Regions from separate parts of the Homo sapiens genome. Here region 1 is linked to region 2. Evidence: promoter capture Hi-C in human tissues and cell types (Jung and others, 2019). All regions are on one chromosome and are shown on one strand. Each heading gives the region's core, a stretch centred on a gene start or on the middle of the fragment in contact. The rest is flanking DNA. Distances are from core to core; before and after follow the strand shown. Region 1 overlaps OIP5 (Opa interacting protein 5). Region 2 holds the start of C15orf62 (chromosome 15 open reading frame 62).

What was found. Contacts are between HindIII fragments. The study calls those that stand out against the background at their distance.
Region 1: a contact is called between a fragment that was not itself captured here and the fragment with the promoter of C15orf62 in region 2, in 1 of the 25 tissues and cell types used here (dorsolateral prefrontal cortex).

The regions. Positions count from the first base shown.
Region 1 is chr15:41,316,339-41,319,809 of GRCh38, reverse strand. It overlaps OIP5 (Opa interacting protein 5), which reads left to right. Exons shown (of 5, transcript NM_007280.2): 3 at 30-152. Among named protein-coding and RNA genes, the nearest start is that of OIP5, 15 kb to the left of the region's middle. The HindIII fragment of the contact is 5,957 bases long and covers 1-3,471 here.
Region 2 is chr15:40,767,918-40,771,566 of GRCh38, reverse strand. It overlaps C15orf62 (chromosome 15 open reading frame 62), which reads right to left and starts at 1,587. Exons shown (of 1, transcript NM_001130448.3): 1 at 1-1,587. The coding sequence starts at 1,071. The coding sequence ends at 544. It overlaps DNAJC17 (DnaJ heat shock protein family (Hsp40) member C17), which reads left to right. Exons shown (of 11, transcript NM_018163.3): 11 at 3,505-3,649. The coding sequence ends at 3,627. RefSeq lists enhancers at 454-1,070, 1,028-1,117, 1,071-1,689, 2,308-2,926. The HindIII fragment of the contact is 9,899 bases long and covers 1-3,649 here.

The DNA.
Region 1 (3,471 bases), core at 727-3,226, 550 kb before region 2:
ACCCATATTGTGTTTTTCCCCACCCCTAGTACTTACAACCTTTTATTCTGTGGTTCTTGTGGGATTCCCGTTGGTTTCCATCTGTATTCTACCCATGCTGCCCTGGCTGCCTTGAGAGGTCACTTCTGCCTTTCCAGTGACAAAATGGTGTGGTGAGTAGACTTAGATATTGATCATCAAATACATTTTATTTTATTTATTTTGAGACAAAGTCCATCAAATAAATTTTAAAAGGTTTTTCAGGAAAGACAAAGTAGGCTGAGCACAGTGGCTTATGCCTGTAATCCCAGCACTTTAGGAGGCTGAGGCGGTGGATCACTCGAGGTCAGGAGTTTGAGACCAGCCTGGCTAACATGGTGAAACCCATCTCTACGAAAAATACAAAAATTAGCCAGGTGTAGTGGTAGACGCCTGTAATCCCAGCTACTCAGGAGGCTGAGGCACGAGAATTGTTGGAACCTGGGAGGCAGAGGCTGCAGTGAGCTGAGATCACGCCACTGTGAGATCACGCCACTGCACTCCAGCCTGGGAGACATAGTGAGATTCTGTCCAAAGGAAAAAAAAAAAAAAGTAGCTGGGCATGCTAGTGCACACCTGTAATCCCAGCTACTTGGGAGGCTGCGGCAAGAGAATTGCTTCAACCTGAGAGGTGGAGGTTGCACAGTGAGCTGAGATTGCACCACTACACTCCAGCCTGGGTGACAGAACAAGACTCTGTCTCAAAAAAAAAAAAAAGAAAAAAGACAAAGTGTTTGTACCAAAAAGATGCTAAAGTCAGGCACTGTCTTTGACAAAAAGATAGCAGTGGGCCAGGTGTGATGGCTCGCGCCTGTAATGCCAATGCTTTGTGAGGCCAAGGTGGGAGGACTGCTTGAGGGCAGGAGTTCAAGACCTCCATGGGCAATATAGTGAGACTCCTGTTTTTTTTTTATACAAAATTTTAAAAAATTAGCTGGATGTGGCGGCGTGCCCCTATAGTCCCAGTTACTTGGGAGGCTGAGGTGGGAGGATCACCTGAGCCCAGGAGTTCAAGGTTACATTTTGCTGTGATCATACCACTGCATTCCACTTTGGGTGACAAAAAAAAAAAAAAGCAGTGGGACCAAAATATAATCTTATAACATTATGATTATCTTCCATGTCTTATCATACCATATCTTAAAAGTCATACCATGGGAAAATTCAGAGGGTATTCTTTCATTAAAGAAACTTGTTGCCAGATGTGGTGGTGTGTGCCTGTAATTCTAGCTACCCAGGAGGCTGAGGCAGGAGGATCACTTGAATCTTGGTGTTTGAGACCAGCCTAGGCAACATGGTGAAGCCTCCCATCTCAAACTGCTCCCTTATGGGCCGGGTGCAGTGGCTCACGCCTGTAATCCCAGCACTTTGGGAGGCTGAGGTCGGGGGTTCACCTGAGGTCAGGAGTTCGAGACCAGCTTGGCCAACATGGTGGAACCCCATCTCCATTTAAAATACGAAAATAAGCCAAGTGTGGTGGCACACGCCTGTGGTCGCAGCTACTCGGGAGGTGAGGCAGAAGAATTGCTTGAACCCAGGAGGCGGAGGTTGCAGTGAGCCAAGATCAAGCCACTGCACTTCAGCCTGGGTGACAGAGCTAGACTCTGTCTCAGAAAAAATAAAAATAAATAAAAGATAAAAAGAACATTCTAGAAGGCAAGCTTTTGCAAAATAATGTTGCAGTAGATACCTTTTGGGTTTGTGCCCAGCCTCTCTCTCCCTCTAATAGGTGGGGCCTTGTATATTTGTATCATGTGTGATTTGTATCATGTGTGATTCCCACTCCCAGGTACTGGATCAAGAATGAATACCTGGCCAGGCATGGTGGGTCATGCCTGTAATCTCAGCACTTTGGAAGGCTGAGTTGGAGGATTGTTTGAGCTTAGGAGTTTGAGACCAGCCTAGGCAACATAGCAAGACTCTGTCTCTACAAAAAATTTAAAATATTAACTGTGTATGGTGGTGTATGCCTGTAGTCCTAGCTACTCTGGAGGCTAAGGTGGGAGGATAGCTACAGCCCAGGAGTTCAAGGTTACAGTGAGCTATGATTGTGTCACTGTATTCTAGCATGGGGAGCAGAGCAAGACCCTGTCTCTTAAAAACCAAAAACGGTGCTGGGCGTGGTAGCTCACGCCTGTAACCCCAGTACTTTGGGAGGCCGAGGTGGGCAGATCATGAGGTCAGGAGATCGAGATCATCCTGGCCAACATGGGAAACCCCGTCTCTACTAAAAATACAAAAAAAATTAGCTGGGCATGGTGGCGCATGCCTGTAATCCTAGCTACTTGGGAGGCTGAGGCAGGAGAATCACTTGAACCGGGGAGTCAGAGGTTGCAGTGAACCAAGATCGCGCCACTGCACTCCAGCCTGGCAACAGAGCGAGACTCTGTCTCAAAAAAAAAAAAAAAAAGAAAAATGGATACCTGACCCAAACTAAGCCAACCAGTTTTCTACCTTAGGAATTTGAAACAAGGGCCCAGAAATACCAGTTACGTGTAGATAGTACTAGTGTTGAAGTTTGGAAGTGAAAGCTCTATGTATGGGATAGCTATTTCCCATGTGATGCATGTAGCTGCAGGGAAGTCTTCTCTGCAGTAAAACATGAAGCAGACACAGAGAAAAGTAAAAATAATGATCATGTAGCCTCATAGTGTCAGAAAAACTACCCTACTGGTTATCCTTTCTCATGAATTACATTGGCTATTTCATTATTTTCCTAATAAATTGCACTTTTAACTTAAGCTTTTTTACTTATTACAAGAAACTGAAACATCCTTAGAAGTCTTTCCTTGACCATTAAAAAACAAAAACAAGCATTGACAACCTAGTTTATGTAGGCATTATGCTTATATCACTGAGTTCTTAATATAGTTTAAGAAAACTAGGGCTCAAAGAGGTGGAAGAGCTGAGATTTGAGCATGTCTTAACTCAAAAGCTTATTTTCCTTTCATAAAACTAAAAGGTTTCCTTTTTCTCATGTCTTTTTTTTTTTTTTTTTTTTTGAGATGGAGTCTTGCTGTGGCGCCCAGGCTGGAGTGCAGTGACGTGATCTTGGTTCACTGTAAGCTTCACCCCCTGGGTTCACACCATTCTCCTGCCTCAGCCTCCCAAGTAGCTGGAACTACAGGCGCCCACCACCACGCTTGGCTAATTTTTTGTATTTTTAGTAGAGACGGGGTTTCACTGTGTTAGCCAGGATGGTCTCGATCTCCTTGACCTCGTGATCCGCCCGCCTTGGCCTCCTAAGGTGCTGGGATTACAGGCATGAGCCACCGCGCCCGGCCGCTTTTTCTCATTTCTTATGCTTAGATAGATGTTTTTAGCTGAGTTATGGTTGACTAAACAATAAAACTTATCAGCCAGTCCTTTACCATGGGTTGCTCACTGTGCATTAGGTATACCATTTGTTCTTCATTGCAAATTTCCAACACAAAATATATACCTGAGATCCTG
Region 2 (3,649 bases), core at 338-2,837:
GGCCTTCTCCCCTTTCTTCCTGGGCCTTCCCACTTTCCTCTTCTGCCTGGGTTGGACTGCCTTTACCCAAGCTTGTCCTGTGACCTCTCTCTGTTGACAGTGGCTTCCAAAGAGGCTGGCATGGGGCACTCATCTCTTCTGCTCAGTCTGTGTCCTCCCACTCCCTGATCTGACCCCGTGCCACCTTCTGGCTCTGCCAGCCTCTACCTGGTTCCTGTAGTGCCGCACAGAGCCTCCCTTTCCCGGCACAGCCTCCCTTTCCCGGCATAGCCAGCTTTCTTCAGGGTCCTGCCAGGAAGGGCCGCCCCCCCAACATTTCCAGATTGCCTCTGTCCCTCCACTCTGGGGTGCCTGGAAGGACTGTCCAGGACCCAGAGAGCAGGCAGAGCCCTGGATTCCTATCCTGGAATCCTCCCCCAGGATGAAGAAGCTCTGCCTGCCTGAACCCTCCAGCGATGGGCCTGGAGTCCTGTCCCTGTCCTTTCCTTAATCCCCAGCCTCTGGATCTTCCAGTCACCCCGGCTTTGCCCACCCTCACCCCATTTAGAAGCTGGGCTCGCTAGGAAACTGCTCCCTTAGCATCTGCAGAACTTCCTCAAGAAGTGAAATCCCCAGGTCCACTTTGAAGGAGAGGAAGGGATCACTGAGGTCTGGGGTAGGTGTCCTCTGGAAGCAGGGAGTGTCCACAAGGCCCTTCTCTGAGTGCTGGTGGAGGGCACTCGACAGAGAGAGCGCCGATGGCAGGGTGGCAGAGTAGGCTGCTGTGTAGGCAGGTGGGGGCTCCAGGATGTTGGGGCAGCTTGAGCTCTCTCGGTAGAGGCGTGGGGGCTTGGGTGGGGCCAGCAGGGTGGCCCGGGGCTGCTCGTCCCCCCACAGTGGCAGGCGCCGGCCATCTGGCCTCCCTTGTAGCTCCCGGATGACTTCTCGGTTGCTGTACTCCTCGTGGTCCCCACCTGCTGTGCTGGCCTGGCTAAGCACACTACTCTGTCGCCGGAGCCGCCGTGGCCGCCCCAGGCTCAGCTGCTTGAAGAAGGAGGCGTTGCGGAAGGAGCCTTTCCGCCAGGTCTCCATGGGGCCCAGGGGAGCCAGCAGACAGGTGTTCAGGAGCAGCCAGGGTGCATGTGGTCCCTGCTGGGGCAGTGAGTGCCAGCAGCTGGGGAGGCTCCCCTAGGAGCAGAGGCCTCAGGGTTTCCACTCAGCACAGACCTTTGACCACATCTTGGATGGTGAGAGGAGGGCTCAGGAAGAAGGAACTTTTTTGCCCAGGAGAGCAGACAGCTGGGAGTTCCTGGCAGCAAGAGTTTCCCACAGGGACAGGAGTGGCCTGGTTACTGAATAGGGTAGTGGAAAAAAACCCAGGAGGAAGAAGCAGCACTTACTGGAGCCAGAATGAGGGCAGCTCCGGCGGAGGCAGAGGTGGACCTTCTCGGGCTGGGTGAGGCTGGCGAGCGCTCCTTCCACAGGCAGGCAGCAGATGGCCCGAGCTCACTCGCCCTGGTGTTTGCCTGGCTCCTATATGTCTCTGGGGCAGTGTGGGGCCGTGCCCTCTCTGCCAGTGGCTCCCGGACTCTGATGAGTGGCCTGGCTGTTTGTGGCGGTGGAGATGTGTTTTTGTTCTCAGCTGACTCAGTCAGGTGGGAAGCCAGGTTTCGTGCTCTTGGGTAATTGCAGCATCCGCGTGCAGGGATGGGGCAGCTGGGACCAACACCCCAGGGCAATGGGGAGCTTAAGATTCCTCTGGGGACTCGTGTGGGGGCAGCCCTGCTTTATGTGTCACCACGCGGCTTCCTTTCTGATCACAGCCCCACCACCCTGGGCCCCCAGCAGGTGCGCCTGGCTCCCTGCCCACAGTGTCTGGGTAGGAAGAGTTCGGGGCGGGTGGGAGTTAATTGAAAGGCAGGCGTGTGGAACGATTGTTGGGGAAGGAAGAGACCTGTAGCTGGTATGGGTGACTCAGCCCCGCTGTCAGGCCCTCACGAGCAGGAACAGGAAGGGGGGCAGAGGGTGTGTTAATGGGGAGCAGCGCCATGCCTGTGATGGGCGGGCTCTGCTGCCCAGGGTTGGGCTGGGGGCCCGCCAAGGGTGGCTCCAAGTTTTCTTGGCAGAGCAGCATTAACCTGGGGATGGGAGATGTGGCCTCCTCTTGGCCTGCCATCAGCCTGGCTGCTATTTCCTTGTCCTCCCTTGTTTTACCCTAGAGGGCTCCTGCCAGGAGAGCGGCTGCTGAAGGCCGGGCCGTGTTGCCTCCTACCTGGCTGTGCTCCAGCCCTTCCCCTCTGGCTACCGGGCTTCCTCTGGGGTCCTCCTTCTCTTGCAGGAGGCTGGGCCAGGGAGGCTGCCGTGAATTGTCAGCCGTGCTCTGGGCCAGGCTTAGCAGTCCGGCCTAGCTGGGACTGCTGCAGCCGGGGAGAGGGGAGGGGTGCAGCCATCGGGAGGAACAGGGGAACCCAGGCTGAGTAACACTTCCTGTTTCTCTACACCCCTTACTCCAAACCTGCTGGCCAGGGCCTGGCATCTCAACCCTAGCTGCTCCCTTCCTATTCCCCGGGTCACTGACCACCACATTTTCCTCCTGCCTTGCTCTGTGACAGCGTCCCCATGCGGGGTACCGCGGATCAGGGCCCCACAGCTCTCTGCTACGGGCAGGCCACCGCATCTTGCAATCCCTGGCCTAGCTCACTTCTGTGCCAACTCAGGTGTGCTTCACACTTCTCTGAGAAGCTGTTGGGACCACATGATCATCACACAGCCTAAGCGGCACCGAGGGAGGAAAAGGTTTAATTCCCACCGCAGACCTTATCAGGGCGTGGGTTGGCAGCTTAGGTCCCGCTGTAGAGCTGCTTCTCCACCCTACAGCCTTGGCCCATTCAGATGGTTGTTTATTATTCTTTTGATTATGGGCCCTGCCCTCCAGGAGCCCTGGTGTGTAGTTTTAGAGGCACGCTGGCCTCATGCTTGCCTTTTTCCCCTTCGAGGGTGGGGCATTCCGGGCTGCCTCGGGTAGGGCTCCCTTCTGCATCCTCAGCAAGAGCCAGACCACAGGGCACCGGGCATAGAGAGTGCCAGGGTCAGTGCCCAGCAGAGCCAAGTGCATCCCTGCTCCTCAGACAACTTCCCTTCCTTGGGAACCTAAGAGGCAGAAGCTACGGGGTAGAGGGAAAGGGGTGAAGGGTAAAGGGCCCAGAGGAAATGAAGGGAGACGAGGGCCTGGCTTAGAGGGCCCGCAGGTGATTCCTGAGAAACAGATGGACCGGAGCTGACGCGGCCTGGGGAAAGGGAGGGGGAGCTGGCTGGGTAGAAGCCGGCCTGGAGGCCAAAGGTGGCGTGTTCTGGGGGACACAGGCGAGCCAGGATTCCAAAAGGATGCTCCGGGTTCCTTCCCTTCCTCTGCCGTCCTCCCTCCGAGACTCTTAGAACGCAGCACTGCCTCGGCACCGTACTCGGAGTCTGTGAGGCTGTGCCCTGCTGTCCCTGACCCCTCCCTGTCCCTGCCCTGTCCGACAGGGCTCAGTGCTGTCAGAGAGGGACTACGAGAGCCTCGTCATGATGCGCATGCGCCAGGCGGCCGAGCGGCAACAGCTGATCGCACGGATGCAGCAGGAAGACCAGGAGGGGCCGCCTACGTAGCCCCAGCTCCAGCCATCCACCC